Regions from separate parts of the Homo sapiens genome. Here regions 2 and 3 are each linked to region 1. The links are contacts of gene promoters, found by promoter capture Hi-C in blood cells and fetal thymus (Javierre and others, 2016). All regions are on one chromosome and are shown on one strand. The core of a region is centred on a gene start or on the middle of the fragment in contact, and the rest is flanking DNA. Distances in the headings are between cores, read along the strand shown. Region 1 holds the start of TTYH3 (tweety family member 3). Region 2 overlaps CHST12 (carbohydrate sulfotransferase 12). Region 3 overlaps CHST12 (carbohydrate sulfotransferase 12).

Evidence for each region. The method cuts DNA at HindIII sites, captures the fragments that hold promoters and counts their contacts. A CHiCAGO score of 5 or more calls a contact.
Region 2: a fragment that was not itself captured here is called in contact with the fragment with the promoter of TTYH3 in region 1 in 1 of 17 cell types (monocytes); the score reaches 5.9 in monocytes.
Region 3: a fragment that was not itself captured here is called in contact with the fragment with the promoter of TTYH3 in region 1 in 1 of 17 cell types (neutrophils); the score reaches 8.7 in neutrophils.

Annotation. Positions count from the first base shown.
Region 1 is chr7:2,629,778-2,634,112 of GRCh38, reverse strand. It overlaps TTYH3 (tweety family member 3), which reads right to left and starts at 2,127. Exons shown (of 14, transcript NM_025250.3): 1 at 1,835-2,127. The coding sequence starts at 1,957. RefSeq lists enhancers at 617-726, 506-1,238, 1,971-2,702 and a silencer at 1,777-2,186. The HindIII fragment of the contact is 11,109 bases long and covers 1-4,335 here.
Region 2 is chr7:2,438,726-2,443,153 of GRCh38, reverse strand. CHST12 (carbohydrate sulfotransferase 12) reads right to left here. Exons shown (of 2, transcript NM_018641.5): 2 at 1-4,428. Among named protein-coding and RNA genes, the nearest start is that of GRIFIN, 35 kb to the left of the region's middle. RefSeq lists an enhancer at 28-528. The HindIII fragment of the contact is 6,535 bases long and covers 1-4,428 here.
Region 3 is chr7:2,417,360-2,422,108 of GRCh38, reverse strand. All of the region lies in intron 1 of CHST12 (carbohydrate sulfotransferase 12), which reads right to left. Among named protein-coding and RNA genes, the nearest start is that of CHST12, 16 kb to the right of the region's middle. The HindIII fragment of the contact is 7,524 bases long and covers 1-4,749 here.

The DNA.
Region 1 (4,335 bases), core at 878-3,377:
AATTCTGCTCTGTGGAGATGAGGCAGGAGAGAGAGTGAGTCAGAGCCCTCCCACAGCAGAGCAGAGCGCAGGGCAGGGGAGGAAAGGGGGCAGAAGCCAGGGCCTCCCAGGGCCATAGCACCCTGCTGGAGGCCAGGCAGGTCAGGCTGAGCAGAGGGGCCTGGCTACTGCCCGGAGGCTCTTGTGGGCTGCAGACATCATCGCCCCTCACTCCCTCTCACTGCCTGTCTCGAATGTGGGAATGCAGGCACCCCGGAGGGCTGGAAGGAAGTCCAACTGTGGCTGGCAGCTCGGGCAGGTGGCAGCCCAAGGGGCAGCAGGAAACAGCCGCCCCCCACGCCCCAGGGCTGCCCCGGAGCTTAAGAACTGACAAATGGGCCAAACCCTCAGGGCAGAGAACTTTCCAAAGTGAAGCACACCCTCCTTGCAGCTTCAACAGAGTCCTCCAGGGACAAGTGGCAAAGCCATCAGCATGGAATAAGTTCCAGAAGTTCCTGAATGTGCATTGCCCCCACACTGAACGGTCCCCCAGGGCTGGGCTTCTAGAACGCAGGCGTGAGATTTTATACCAATCCTTCCGCCTCCCTCCTCCCTGCTGTGTCTGGGCGTGCCTGGGCCGATCCCTCGCCCCCTTCCTCATCTGTTAGGAAACGTCATCGGCTCGGCTGGGGGGCCTGGGTGCAAGTGAGCGCGAGGCTGGGAGCAGTGGGCTCCCAGGTGCCCTGCTCCTCCACTTCCGCCTCCCTCCTCTGGATGCGGGAGGCCACAGACAACGCAGTTCTGAAGAGTCCAGGTGCTAGGCTGCCCGCGGAATACCGGATTCCCAAGCCATTTTGATAAGCAAAGCCATCCCCACCCCACCATGGGGCTCTGCCATGATCCGTCCAGAGAGAAACTCCGGGTGACCAGGGACCCTGGTCACGGGGCTTCTGGAATCCGGATCTCTAGGCAGGAAGGAAATGCCCACAGCTTGGTCCCCTGCCCCGCACTCAAATGACAGTAGCTTGGCGATGGGGGTGGTGCTGGGGCCTGGCATGATGCCAGGCTAAGGGCTCCCCTGGGAGAGGGCTGCAAAGGGCCCCCAGCCGCCCCCCAGGTCTGCCTGGGCTCAGCCGCTTCCAGCCTCCCTGCCTGAGGCCCACGGTGCTTCCTGGCCGCCGGGCCTCCCTCCCCCGGGGGCTACAGGCAGCCTGGTCTCCCACGGCCACACACGGCACCCTGTGTACATCCCACAGCCTGACCGCCAAGCAGGGGGTCATTACCGGCCACAGAGGGCTGGCGGCGGCCCAGGCCATTCACCCACTGGAAGCCTGGCAGTGGGATTCCCCAGTCGGGGGTGAGTGGGCGAGGAGTCTCTGCCTGCCTGCACCCAATGTGCTCAGGCACCCGCTCTGATCTCAGAGCCTGGGGGTCATCTGGGGAGGGGTCTCTGCTGGGACACAGCACCAGGCCGCCAACAGTGATGGTGGAGAGGCCCTCCACTGGCCAAGGGGGCTCACGGAGTGGGGAGAGGCAGCTCCATGAAACCCAGGGGCCTTAGTGACACCAGAAGGGAAGGCCAGAATCGGGAGGGGGGCCGTGGACCCTCACTGGGGGTTGGAGGGTATTTAGACCTTTGAGGAGGAGGCCATGACCCTGGAAGAAAGGGTCCTAGGACTCAGAAGGGACCCTCGAGAAGGAAGGAGGCCGGTACCTGCGAGGAGGAGGTGGCCGTGACCCTGGAGGGGGGGATGAGGGGTCTTTAGGCCCTCGGGGATGGGGGCCGTGACCCTGGGAGAGGAGGGGGCCGTGACCTGGGGTCCCTGACCCCGCGACCCCGAGAGGCCCATGTCACCTGCTGGTAGTCGGTGTCCTCGGGCCGGAACTGGCTGCTAGTGGCCTCCCAGCTCAGGTCGAAGTGGGGCAGCCGGTGCAGGAGGCTCACCCACCAGGGCGCCGCGTAGCTGACCCCGGCCATGGCGGGGCCCGGCCGCCTCCGGATGCGCGCGGCCTGCGCGGGGCTCCCTTGCTGGCCCGGGGCGCGGGCTTCAGGGACCCGTCGACCCCCGCCTGGCCGCCCGCATCATCCGCGCGCTCCTGGGCCCGGCCCGGCCCGGCTCGGCCCGGCTCGGCTGCGCTCGGCTCCGCTCGGCCGCCCGCGCCCGCCGCCTCTTTGTTCGCCGCCGCCGCCGCCGCCCCCTCCGCACCCCCGCCCGTCCGCCCGCCGGCCCCGCCCCCGAGCCTCCATTGGCCCGCCTCCCGCCAGCCCAGCCCCCGCGCGCCCCGCCCTCTGTCCCGCCTCTTACCCACCATTGGTCTATCCCCCGCCGATCCCGCCCCACAGCGTGCCCCGCCCACTCGCTCCTGAACCTCTATTGGTCCTTTTACCTGATGGTTTTGCCCCTCCACTCGCATCCCCGCCCATTACCCAATGGCCCCGCCCCTCCACGTGTCCCCGCCCTTCGGCCCCGCCTCTGTACCGTCATTAGTCCGCCGGCAGAAGCTCCGCCTACTTCCTCGCCTTCTTGGAGGGACGCCTGGCCCCTAAGGCGCTGGAAGACCGACCCTCAGCGCTGTAAGACCCGGGCCAGCCAGTCTTTCCACGTGGCCGTGGGGGCTGGAACCCTGGCTGCATATGCAGCTGCGCTTCATTCCATGAATTCGCTCTTCGTTTGGATCTTTGCATGTTTCTTATTTGACTCGAGGGTCCGGCCTGGTGGGCTGGGCTGGTCTTGGCCTCCCCATTGCACACACAACAGCCCACAGCCCGCAGCGCCCAGCAAGGCACCGAGTGGCCTATCTGTACAATGGACATGATCTGGATTCAGGGCCTGGCTGGGGCACCTAGAGCTGTGTGATCTGGGGCAAGTTACTTAACCACTCTGTGCATCGGTGTCCTTGTCTGTAAAAGGGGATGATAAAGCTACGAGTGTTGGCAGGGCGTGGTGGTGGTTCATGCCTGTAATCCCAGCACTTTGGGAGGCCGAGGCAGGCGGATCACCTGAGGTCAGGAGTTCGAGACCAGCCTGGCCAAAATGGTGAAACCCCGTCTCTACTAAAAATACAAAAATTAGCCAGGCGTGGTGGCGGGCGCCTGTAATCCCAGTTACTCTGGAAGCTGAGGGAGGAGAATTGCTTGGACCTGCGAGATGGAGGTTGCGGTGAGTGGAGATTGCGCCACTGCACTCCAACCTGGGCAACAGAGTGAGACTCCATCTCAAAAATAAAAAAAATTTTTTTTAAAAAGGTACGAGTGTTAAGTGGATCCGCAGGTAGATTCAGTCCCCATCCGGCCTTCCCTCTGGGGAAGGTTGAGTCTTTTGTCAAGACCTAAGATGAAGACGGTGCCCTGTTCTGGTGTCCTGGGGCCTAAAAATTCAGGCACCTGCCAGAGAGGGCCCATCATGGGCTTTGGAGCCACACAGCCAAATTTCCTAACAGGGCCTCCCCATGCCTGTGCCTCCTCCTTTGCTAAAGGGGAGATGGGAGCTGCCAGAGCCAGGAGGATGGACATAGTGCGTGCTTGGGCCCAGGTGCACGCCTCCCTCCGCACTCTAGGGCAGTGGGTGCATCCTGGCTCTGCTTCATCACCTGGGGCCTTATTCCTGGACCTCCTGTGTACTGAGAAACAGGTTTCCACACCCGGGCTCCACCATCTGCTGTGCCCGACTTGGCCAGCTCTGTGGGCAGGCAGGCCGTTCCTGGCAGGAAGAGCTCTTTGCAGGCAGGGACGGTTCCGGGCAGTGTCTTCCCAGGAGGCCTGGACTTTGGCTCATTGACTGCCCTGACTCGCCTGTTTTCCTGTGATAGGGCACCGGGCAAGAGGGACTAGCTGAGCTGCGGTTTCCACCCGCTGGATAACTTGGAGACACCACCCAGCTGGGAAATAACAGCCAGGCAGAAGGGGGGAGGTCGCATTCTCCATCCCTAAAGGCCGAAGAGCCAGAAATTTGGGGTGGGGTGGGGATACTGGCTCAGGTTCCTCTCTCTCCAATGCCAAGGATGGTGGGAGCTCCAGGCAGAATGAAGCCCCCCCCAACCCCCTAAGACCAAGGCTACCTACTTGGAGTGGGCTGGTACCTGGCCAGGTGAGTCCTCTTCTTTGGCGCCAGCTGATTGCTCACTGTGAACAGGTGGCTTAGGCAGGACGCCCACTCCTAGCCTGACACTGCTCCAGCATCCAGCCTGTGACCTCATCTCCACAGCCAGGGGATCGCCTGCACGGCCCGTGCCCTGGGCTGACTCTGACCTCAGAGTTCTGTGTCGCATAACTCCAGGGATGAACAGGGCAGTCCCTGGCCAGCTGCAGAAATTGTCCTCATGGCCTGAGATCGTTTCTGGTTCCTGCTGTTAGCA
Region 2 (4,428 bases), core at 18-2,517, 190 kb after region 1:
CTCCAGCCTGGGTGACAGCAAGACTCCACCTCAAAAAATAATAAATAAACAAATAAACAAAAAAATTAGCTGGCCATGGTGGCGGGCACCTGTAATCCCAGCTACTTGGGAGGCTGAGGCAGGAGAACCACTTGAACCCAGGAAGCAGGGGTTGCAGTGAGCCGAGATCATGCCACTGCACTCCAGCCTAGGCGAAAGAGCAAGACTCTGTCTGGAAAAAAAAAACAAAAACCTGTTCCACTTCAGATCATCAGGCATTAGATTGTTGCATGGAGAACCCTGGTATGCAGGGTTCACAGGAGGGTTCCCGCTCCTATGAGAATCTAATGCCGCCGCTGATCTGACGGGAGGCGGGGCTCCGGCGGGAATGCACGCTCACCTGCCGCTCACCTCCTGCTGTGCAGTCCAGTTCCTAAGGGGCCGCAGGCCAGTATTGGTCCATCACCAGGGGGTTGGGGATCCCTGCCCCAAAGAATTAAAAGCAGGGACTCGGCGGGGCGTGGTGTCTCATGCCTGTAATCCCAGCAGTTTGGGAGGCCGAGGTGGGTGGATCACGAGGTCAGGAGATCCAGAGCATCCTGGCTAACATGGTGAAACTCCGTCTCTACTAAAAATACAAAAAATTAGCCAGGCGTGGTGGTGGGCACCTGTAGTCCCAGCTACTCGGGAGGCTGAGGCAGGAGAATGGCCTGAACCTGGGAGGCGGAGCTTGCAGTGAGCTGAGATGGTGCCACCGCACTCCAGCCTGGGAGACAGAGCGAGACTCCGTCTCAAAAGAAAACAGCAGGGACTTGAACAGGTATCTGCACACCCGTGTTCACAGCAGCATTATTCACAAGAGCCGAGAGATGGAAGCAACCCAGGTGTCCATCCCTGGGTGAATGGATAAAATGTGGTCTGTCCATACAACGGGATATCGTTCAACCTTTAAAAGGAAGGTGATCCTGACTACAACATGAATGAACCTTGAAGACATTATACTACATGAAGAAGCCAGACACAAAAGGACAAATATTGTACAAATCCACTTACAGGAGGTCCCTAGTCAAACTCAGAGACAGGAAGTAGAATGGTTGGTGCCAGGGGCTTTGGGGGGGCGGCACAGTGGGGAATGGGGAGCTAGTGTTTAATAGGGACAGAGTTTCAGTTTTGTAAATGGAGAGAATTTTGGAGATGGATGGTGGTAACGGTGGCAGGCAAACTGAATGTGCTTAATGCCACTGAACTGTTCACTTAAAAATGGGGAAGAGGGCACATTTTATGTTGCATGTATCTTACCACAACTTTTAAAAGAACTGAAATTAACACCAGTTAAAACCATTACCACCACCACAATTCACCCAAGAAAATATACTTACAAGGTCAACCTTTTTCTTTTTTTTCTTATGAGAAACCCACTCTTCTAAACAGGATGGCCTTCTAATGATAAAATACAACACCTTTTTTTTTTTTTTTTTTTTTAAGACAAGATCTTGCTCTGTCACCCAGGCTGGAATGCAGTGGTGCAATCATGGCTCACAGCAGCCTCGACCTCCCAGACTCAAGCGATCCTCCCACCTCAGCCTCCCAAGTAGCTGGGACTACAGGTGCATACCACCATGCACGGCTTTTTCTTTTAGCTTTTGGAGAGACAAGTTTCCACTATGTTGCCCAGACTGGTCTCAAACTTCTGGGCTCAAGCAATACTCCTGCCTTGAGCTCCCAAAATGGTGGGATTACAGGCATAAGCTGCCCCCTGCAGCCATATTCTTATCATTACTATTTAAACGAGTGAAGAAAGCATTTTTAAGGTTCCTATTCCAAATTTGCCTAAAAGATGAACTCCAGCCCAGGGGCAGGAGACCTAGGCTGGAAGGCACTGCCGGTCCTAGTCCGCTCCTCCTGGGCCCCTGGGTCTGCGGTGAGCAGGTGGCAGCTCTGTTGTCTCCCTCCCCCATCTAGGCGGGCCTGGACGCCACCCCAATATCGCAGGCCACATAGGGCTCCACGCGCTCCTCCCTCTTGCTCTGCTCTTCCCTCGGGCCCTGTGGGAATTCTCGAGTCAAGCCCAGCCGCCCCTGCTGACCCAGGTCAAGGCTCTCACGGAGCATGGGGCCTGCACGCTTTGAACCTCTTGAAACATTATAAGCAGAACATTGCCCCACAGCCTGAGAGCCACAGCCGTGTCTCTCCTAAGCAAGGATGGTGCTTAGACAAGGAAAAAAGACAGGGCCTGGCTTTTTCATCCTAGGATTTCAAAGTGCATTTAGACACGCTAACTTATGACCACTCACGAGGTGGTAACTTCACACGGCCGGAGAAACGACAGCACAAGAAGTATCGTTGACTCCCGACCCCAAGATAAATCCAGAATGACACAGGATTGTGCAACCTCCAGATCTTTGTTCAAACAGCTTATTCTACCAGATAAACCTGAGCGGCGGCATTCTTCTTGGCAGTTTCTGGAAGTGTGAAGGTGAATTCCTAACTAAGATAGAAGGTGACTACAGGTATAAACCACCACCTCCCAAATCAGCCTGTAGACCCTCCACTGTGGGTACCTCGGGCTGGCCCTACAGGCCCACTCTGTCTTCTCTTCGGTGGCCCACCCCGCTCCTACTCACAACCGAGCCTCATCTGGGGTGCCCAGTTCCCATCATCCCAGGAAAGTCTGGGACCCTCTGCCTTTCAGAGTTCAGGTCAAACACTACCCCAAAGACCTGAGCTAGAATTTTCAAGTCCAAATCTCCAAACACACACACACACACATTCTCTTGCACACAAGTGCAGACTCACACTTGCACGCACACTTGCACATGCACTCGCACACCTGCACACACACACCCCGCCAGCTTCTAGCCAGTACTTCAAACCCCCAAACTATAAGTGCAAAAAACACCCAGATAGGCTGTGTTCGTTTATCACTGTCAAAGTCAACCAACAGATCCTCATCAGACAAGTGTGACGGGACCATTACAGTGAGCAAATGCTCTCCAGATGGCACCATGACAGCCATGGGAGTCATTTCAGGCATGCCTGCGGAATGGTGCTTGGCTCAGATCAGTAGCGCCCACGGACAGACACAGAGAAGCCTTCAAACCAGGTGTCCTTTCTTCATTAGCCTCCCCATCAGAGATGCACTGAGAAATTATTCCTGCTGGGCACAGCAGCCCACGCCTGTAATCCCAGCACTTTGGGAGGCTGAGGCAGAAGGAGCACTCGAGCTCAGGAGTTTGAGACCAGCCTGGGTGACAAAGCAAGACCCCGTATCTACCAAAAAAAAAAATTTTTTTTTGAGACGGAGTCTCGCTCTGTCGCCCAGGCTGGAGTGTAGTGGCGCCAATCTCCGCTCACTGCAAGCTCCGCCTCCCGGGTTCACGCCATTCTCCTGCCTCAGCCTCCCGAGTAGCTGGGACTACAGGCGCCCACCACCACGCCCGGCTAATTTTTTTGTATTTTAGTAGAGACGGGGTTTCACCATGTTATCCAGGATGGTCTTGATCTCCTGACCTCGTGATCCACCCACCTCGGCCTCCCAAAGTGCCGGGATTACAGGCATGAGCCACCGTACCCGGCCTCTACCAAAAATGTAAAAATTAGCCGGGCATGGTGGTGCATGCCTGTAGTCCCAGCTACTTGGGAGGCTGAGGTGGGAGGACCACTTGAGCCCAGGAGGTCGAGGCTGCAGTGAGCTATGATCACACCACTGCACTCCAGCCTGGATGACAGAAAGAAACTCTGTCAAAAAAAAAAAAGAACAAATTATTTCCAAAGGGGAAAAAATTACACATTCTCCAATTAATCTCTCTGCTGGTGAAATGGTATCCCAATAGGAGAGCCTCACCTATCCCTGGGTCCTGGCAGAGTAAGAACATGTTTCTAAAATCTCATGATGCTAAGAAACGGCTCATGTCCACGTGAACAGTGCCCTGCATCCTCAGGTCACGTGGCTTCTCTCTTCACTGATGGAACTCCTTCAACCCTAGTTTATCAAACACCAACATATTAATGCAGTTGTGTGCGAGTCTAGATCCTGTATGTGAAACGCTAGAAATCCAACCCAAATCAGCTGAAGCGAGTGCAAATTCCTGGAGGCGCACAGCTGAGAAGAGCAGGTGGAGCCGGCTTCAGGTGCTCACCCCGGCCCGGCCCCCGATCTGGTGGCCCTTCCTCCCTCAGCAGTTGGTCTCAGTTCCGGGACGGCTTTTCTAGGTGGCCACAGCACTGTAACGTCCATCCCCTCCACCTGCCAGAACCTCTTCCCAGAGGCTCACAGCTAAGAGCACTGGGTCTCAGGGGTCCAGGTCAGGAAATCAGCCCCGTCCCGTATCAACCATGGGACACAATGGCTCAGGTGCATCTGCCCTTGGGCCTGGGTAGGGAGGCCTGACTCAGCCCTCCTAGGGTAAGGGAGAGGGCGGAAGAGACGGGCTCTCTGACCAGGAGGAG
Region 3 (4,749 bases), core at 109-2,608, 210 kb after region 1:
GGCCAGGGATGCTGCCGCCGTCCACGAATTCTGTACCTAAGAACTAGATAAGGGCGTTACTGAGCCAACCTAAGCACTTCTGCTTATTTTTCAGCCAAGAAGCATTACATATATACAACCAATGCCAGTGACTACATCATTTTATAAAACCTATGACTTTTCATGGATAATTTAATAAGATTTCAGTTTAATTACAAGGAAAATATTTTAGGATTATAACTAAGTATTAATAATATCTTTTAGGGCCAGCTATGGTGGCTCATGCCTGTAATCCCAGCACTTTGGGAGGCTGAGGCGGGAGAACTGCCCAGGAGTTTAAGACCAGCCTGGGCAACATAGCAAGACCCTATCTCTATAAAAAATGTTTAAAAAGGCTGGGCGCAGTAGCTCATGCCTGTAATCCTGGCACTTTGGGAGGCTGAGGTGGGCAGATCACTTGAGCTCAGGAGTTTGAGGACAGCCTGGCCAACATGGCAAAACCCTGTCTCTACTAAAAATAAAAAAATTAGCCTGGCATGGTGGTGTACACTTGTAATCCCAGTTTCTTGAGAGGCTGAGATGGAAGGACCATTTGAACCTGGCAGGTGGAAGTTGCAGTGAGCCAAGATCGCGTCACCGCACTCTAGCCTGGGCAACAGAGCGAGACTCCGTCTCAAAAAAAAAAAAAAAAGTAAAAAAAAAAACCAAACTAAAAAACTAGCCAGGCATGGTAGTGTGTGCCTGTAGTCTCAGCTACTTAGGAGGCTGAGGTGAGAGGATTGCTTGAGCCCAAGAGTTTGAGGCTGCAGTGAGCTATGATGTTGCCACTGCATCCCAGCCTGGGCAACATACCAAGACCCTTCTCTACAAAAAAAATGTAAAAAAAAAAAAAAAAAAAAAAAGAATTAGCAGGACATGGTGGTGTGCACTTACAGTCCCAGCTACTCAGGAGGCTGAGGCAAGAGGATCGCTTGAGCCCAGGAGATGGAGGTTGCAGTGAGCTGTGATGGCACCACTGCACTCCAGCCTGGGGAACAGAGTGAGACTCTGTCTCAAAAAAAAAAATTAACACAGAATTATCATATAAAATTACCATATGAGGGGCCAGGTGCAGTGACTCACGCCTGTAATCCCAGCTACTCAAGGAGGCTGAGGCAGAATTGCTTGAACCCAGGAGGCAGAGGTTGCAGTGAGCTGAGATTGTACCACTGTATTCCAGACTTGGTGACACAGTGAGACTCCGTCTTAAAAAATAATAATAAAATAAAATTGCCATATGATACAGCAATTCCACTTCTGTGTATACACCCAAAATAACTGAAAGCAAGGTTGTTGTTCTTTTCCTGAGACAGGGTCTCACTGTGTTGTCCAGGCTGGGGTGCAGTGGTGCCATCAAACCTCACTGCAGCCTTGAACTCCTGGGCTCAAGCAGCCTCCTGAGTAGCTGAGACTATAGGTGGTTGCCACCATGCCCAGCTAATTTTTTGTAGAGATGGCATCTTGCTATGTTGTCAGGGTGGTCTTGAATTCCTGGCCTCAAGTGATCCTTCCACCTTGGCCCCCCAAAGTGCTGGGATGACAGGCATGAGCCACTGCACTCAACTTAGAGCAGGGTCTTGAAGAGATGCTTGCACACCCATGTCCACACTGATGTCAGCATCATTCACAATAGCCAAAAGGTGGAAGGAACCCAAGTGTTCGCGACAGATGAACAGACAAGCAAACTGTGGTCAACCCATGTAGTAGAATATTACTCAGCCTTCAAAAGAAAGGAAATTCTGACACATGCTACAACATGGATGAACCCTGAAGACATTATGCTCAGTGAAATAAGCCAGAAACAAAAGGACAAATACTTGGCCGGTGTGGCGGCTCACACCTGTAATCCCAGCACTTTGGGAAGCCGAGGCGGGCAGATCACGAGGTCAGGAGATCAAGACCATCCTGGCTAACACGGTGAAACCCCGTCTCTACTAAAAATACAAAAAATTAGCCGGGCATGCTGACGGGCGCCTGTAGTCTCAGCTACTCTGGAGGCTGAGGCAGGAGAATGGCATGAACCCGGGAGGCAGAGCTTACAGTGAGGTGAGATCGTGCCACTGCACTCCAGCCTGGGCAACAGAGCGAGACTCCATCTCAAAAAAAAAAAAAAAAAAAAAAAGACAAATATTTCAAGATTCTACTTGTATGAGGTTCCCAGGGCAGTTAAATTCCTAGAGACAGAAAGTAGAATGGTGGTTGTGGGGGCAGGGGAGGGGGATGGGAGTTTGTGTTCAATGGGGACAGAGCTTTAGTTTTACAAGATGAACATAGTTCTGGGGCTGGAGGGTGGTGATTGCTGCAGAGTGATGTGAACGTGCTTAACACCACCAAACTGCATGCTTAAAAATGGTTACAATGGTAATTTTTTTTTTTTTTTTTTGAGACGGAGTTTTGCTCTTGTTGCCTAGGCTTGAGTGCAGTTGCACAATCTCAGCTCACTGCAACCTCTGCTTCCCGGGTTCAAGCGATTCTCCTGCCTCAGCCTCCTAAGTAGCTGGGATTACAGGCTCCCACCACCATGCCTGGCTAATTTTTGTATTTTTAGTAGAGACGGGGCTTCACCATGTTGGCCAGGCTGGTCTCGGACTCCTGACCTCAGGGAATCCACCTGCCTTGGCCTCTCAAAGTGCTGGGATTACAGGCGTAAGCCACTATGCCCAGCCATTTTTTTTTTTTTTTTTTTTTTGGAGACAGGGTTCCACTCTATCATTCAGACTTGAGTGCAGTGGCGTGATCTTGGCTCACTGCAACCTCCCCACTCAAGTGATCCTCCCACCTCAGCCTCCTGAGTAGCTGGGTTACAGGTGTGCACCACCACGCCTGGCTAATTTTTGTATTTTTAGTAGAGATGGGGTTTCACCATGTTGACCAGGATGGTCTTGAACTCCTGGGCTCAAGTGATCTACCTGCCTCGGCCTCCCAAAGTGATGGGAATACAGGCATGAGCCACCACGCCCAGCCAAGTTTTAATTTTAAAAGGCGGTTTGGACAGCCAGACATGGTGGTTCATGCCTGTGATCCCAGCAATTTGGGAAGCCAAGGCAGGGGGATTGCTTGAGCCAAGGGGTTCAAGACCAGCCTGGTCCACACAGTGAGACCTCATGTCTACAAATAATTTTTAAAATTAGCTGGGCATGATGGCACACACCTGTGGTCCCAGTTACTCTGGAGGCTGAAGTGGGAAAATGGCTTGAACCCAGGAGGTCAAGGCTGCAGTAAGCTATGATTGTGCCGTTGTACTCCAGCCTGGGTGACAGGGTGAGACCACATCCCAAAAAACAAAACAACAACAACAGCAACAGAAACAACAGCTTGGACATACAAGAATGTCTGGCCCAGTGACTGACACAGCTCCGGCCTGAAGCCCACGTGACTTTTGCTACCTTCTGGGCAGGAGAGAAGCATTCAGGGAAGGGTCCGATAGAACCGCTGGGCTGAGCACTGCGGTCATGATCCCACCTGCTTCCAAAACACATCATGGGCAACACTGAAGCCATAAAGTAATTTTTCATTAAAAAGAAATAGGACATGATTTCCAAATGCAAATCTCCCAGTGTTTCAACAAAAAGCCCCCTGTGATTTGAAGCAGAGCACGCAGAGGCATCTCAGATGAACAGACGTATAACCCGCCTGCGGCACACCAACCGTGGGCTGCTGCCTCCAGCAAGGGAACCCACAGAGCAAAGTTTCACCTAGAAGCATCATCCGCCAGGAAACTGTAGCGGTGGAGGTGCTTTTCCACGGCGGCTGTGTCAGATGCCCTCATAAATGGCACTGAAAATTATTAGGTTAGGTTTAAACGCAAACACTGTGGTTAGGCTGACAGAGTTGTGTCTTAGCTCCGGGTGGGGCTGTTAAATATTTCTTTGCTCACACACAACATGCAGGGCATGAAGCCAGGGGCAGACTCTGCAGCCCCAGGGAGCAAGTCCATGCCGGCTGCCCACGCAAGGCCACTGGTCCAAATACTCATGCTGACTGTGGGCAAAACACTAGAGAAAGAAAAGGCAGCTAGCACAGACAGCTATGGCCTTAGCTCACTCGTGTTCAGCTGTGTGTCACCGTGACGTGACCACAGCCATCCTGCTCTGGAAGACACTGCCACATGGCCAGATCTATATTAAGCCCCCCAGAAGCGCATTTTCCACATTGTTACAGCAGAACTGACATCGATCACACAAAAAGGTCACGTAATACGTGGCTAATTTTATGTGTCAACTGGACTGGGCCGTGGGGTACCCAGATATTTGGTTAAGCATACTCTGACTGCGTCTGTGAGCATGTTTCTGGAGGAGAGTAACATCCAAATGGGTGAACTGAGATATCGGATGCCCTCCCAGTATGAGAGGGCCTCAGCCAGTCCACTGAAGGCCCAAGTACAACAGAAAAGTGGAGTAAGGCCAGGTGTGGTGGCTCATGCCTATAATCACAGCACTTTGGGAGGCCAAGGCAGGCGGATCAGTTGAGGTCAGGAGTTCGAGACTAGCCTGGCCAACATGGTAAAACCCTGTCTCTACTAAAAATACAAAAATTAGTCAGGCCTGGTGGCACATGCCTGTAATTCCAGCTACATGGGAGGTTGAGGCAGGAGAATAGTTTGAACCTGGGAGGCGGAGGTTGCAGTGAGCTAAGATCACACCACTGTACTCCAGCCTGGGCAACACTGTGAGACTCCATCACAAAAAAAAAAAAAAAAAAAAGTCAGACATGGTGGCGCACACCTGTAAC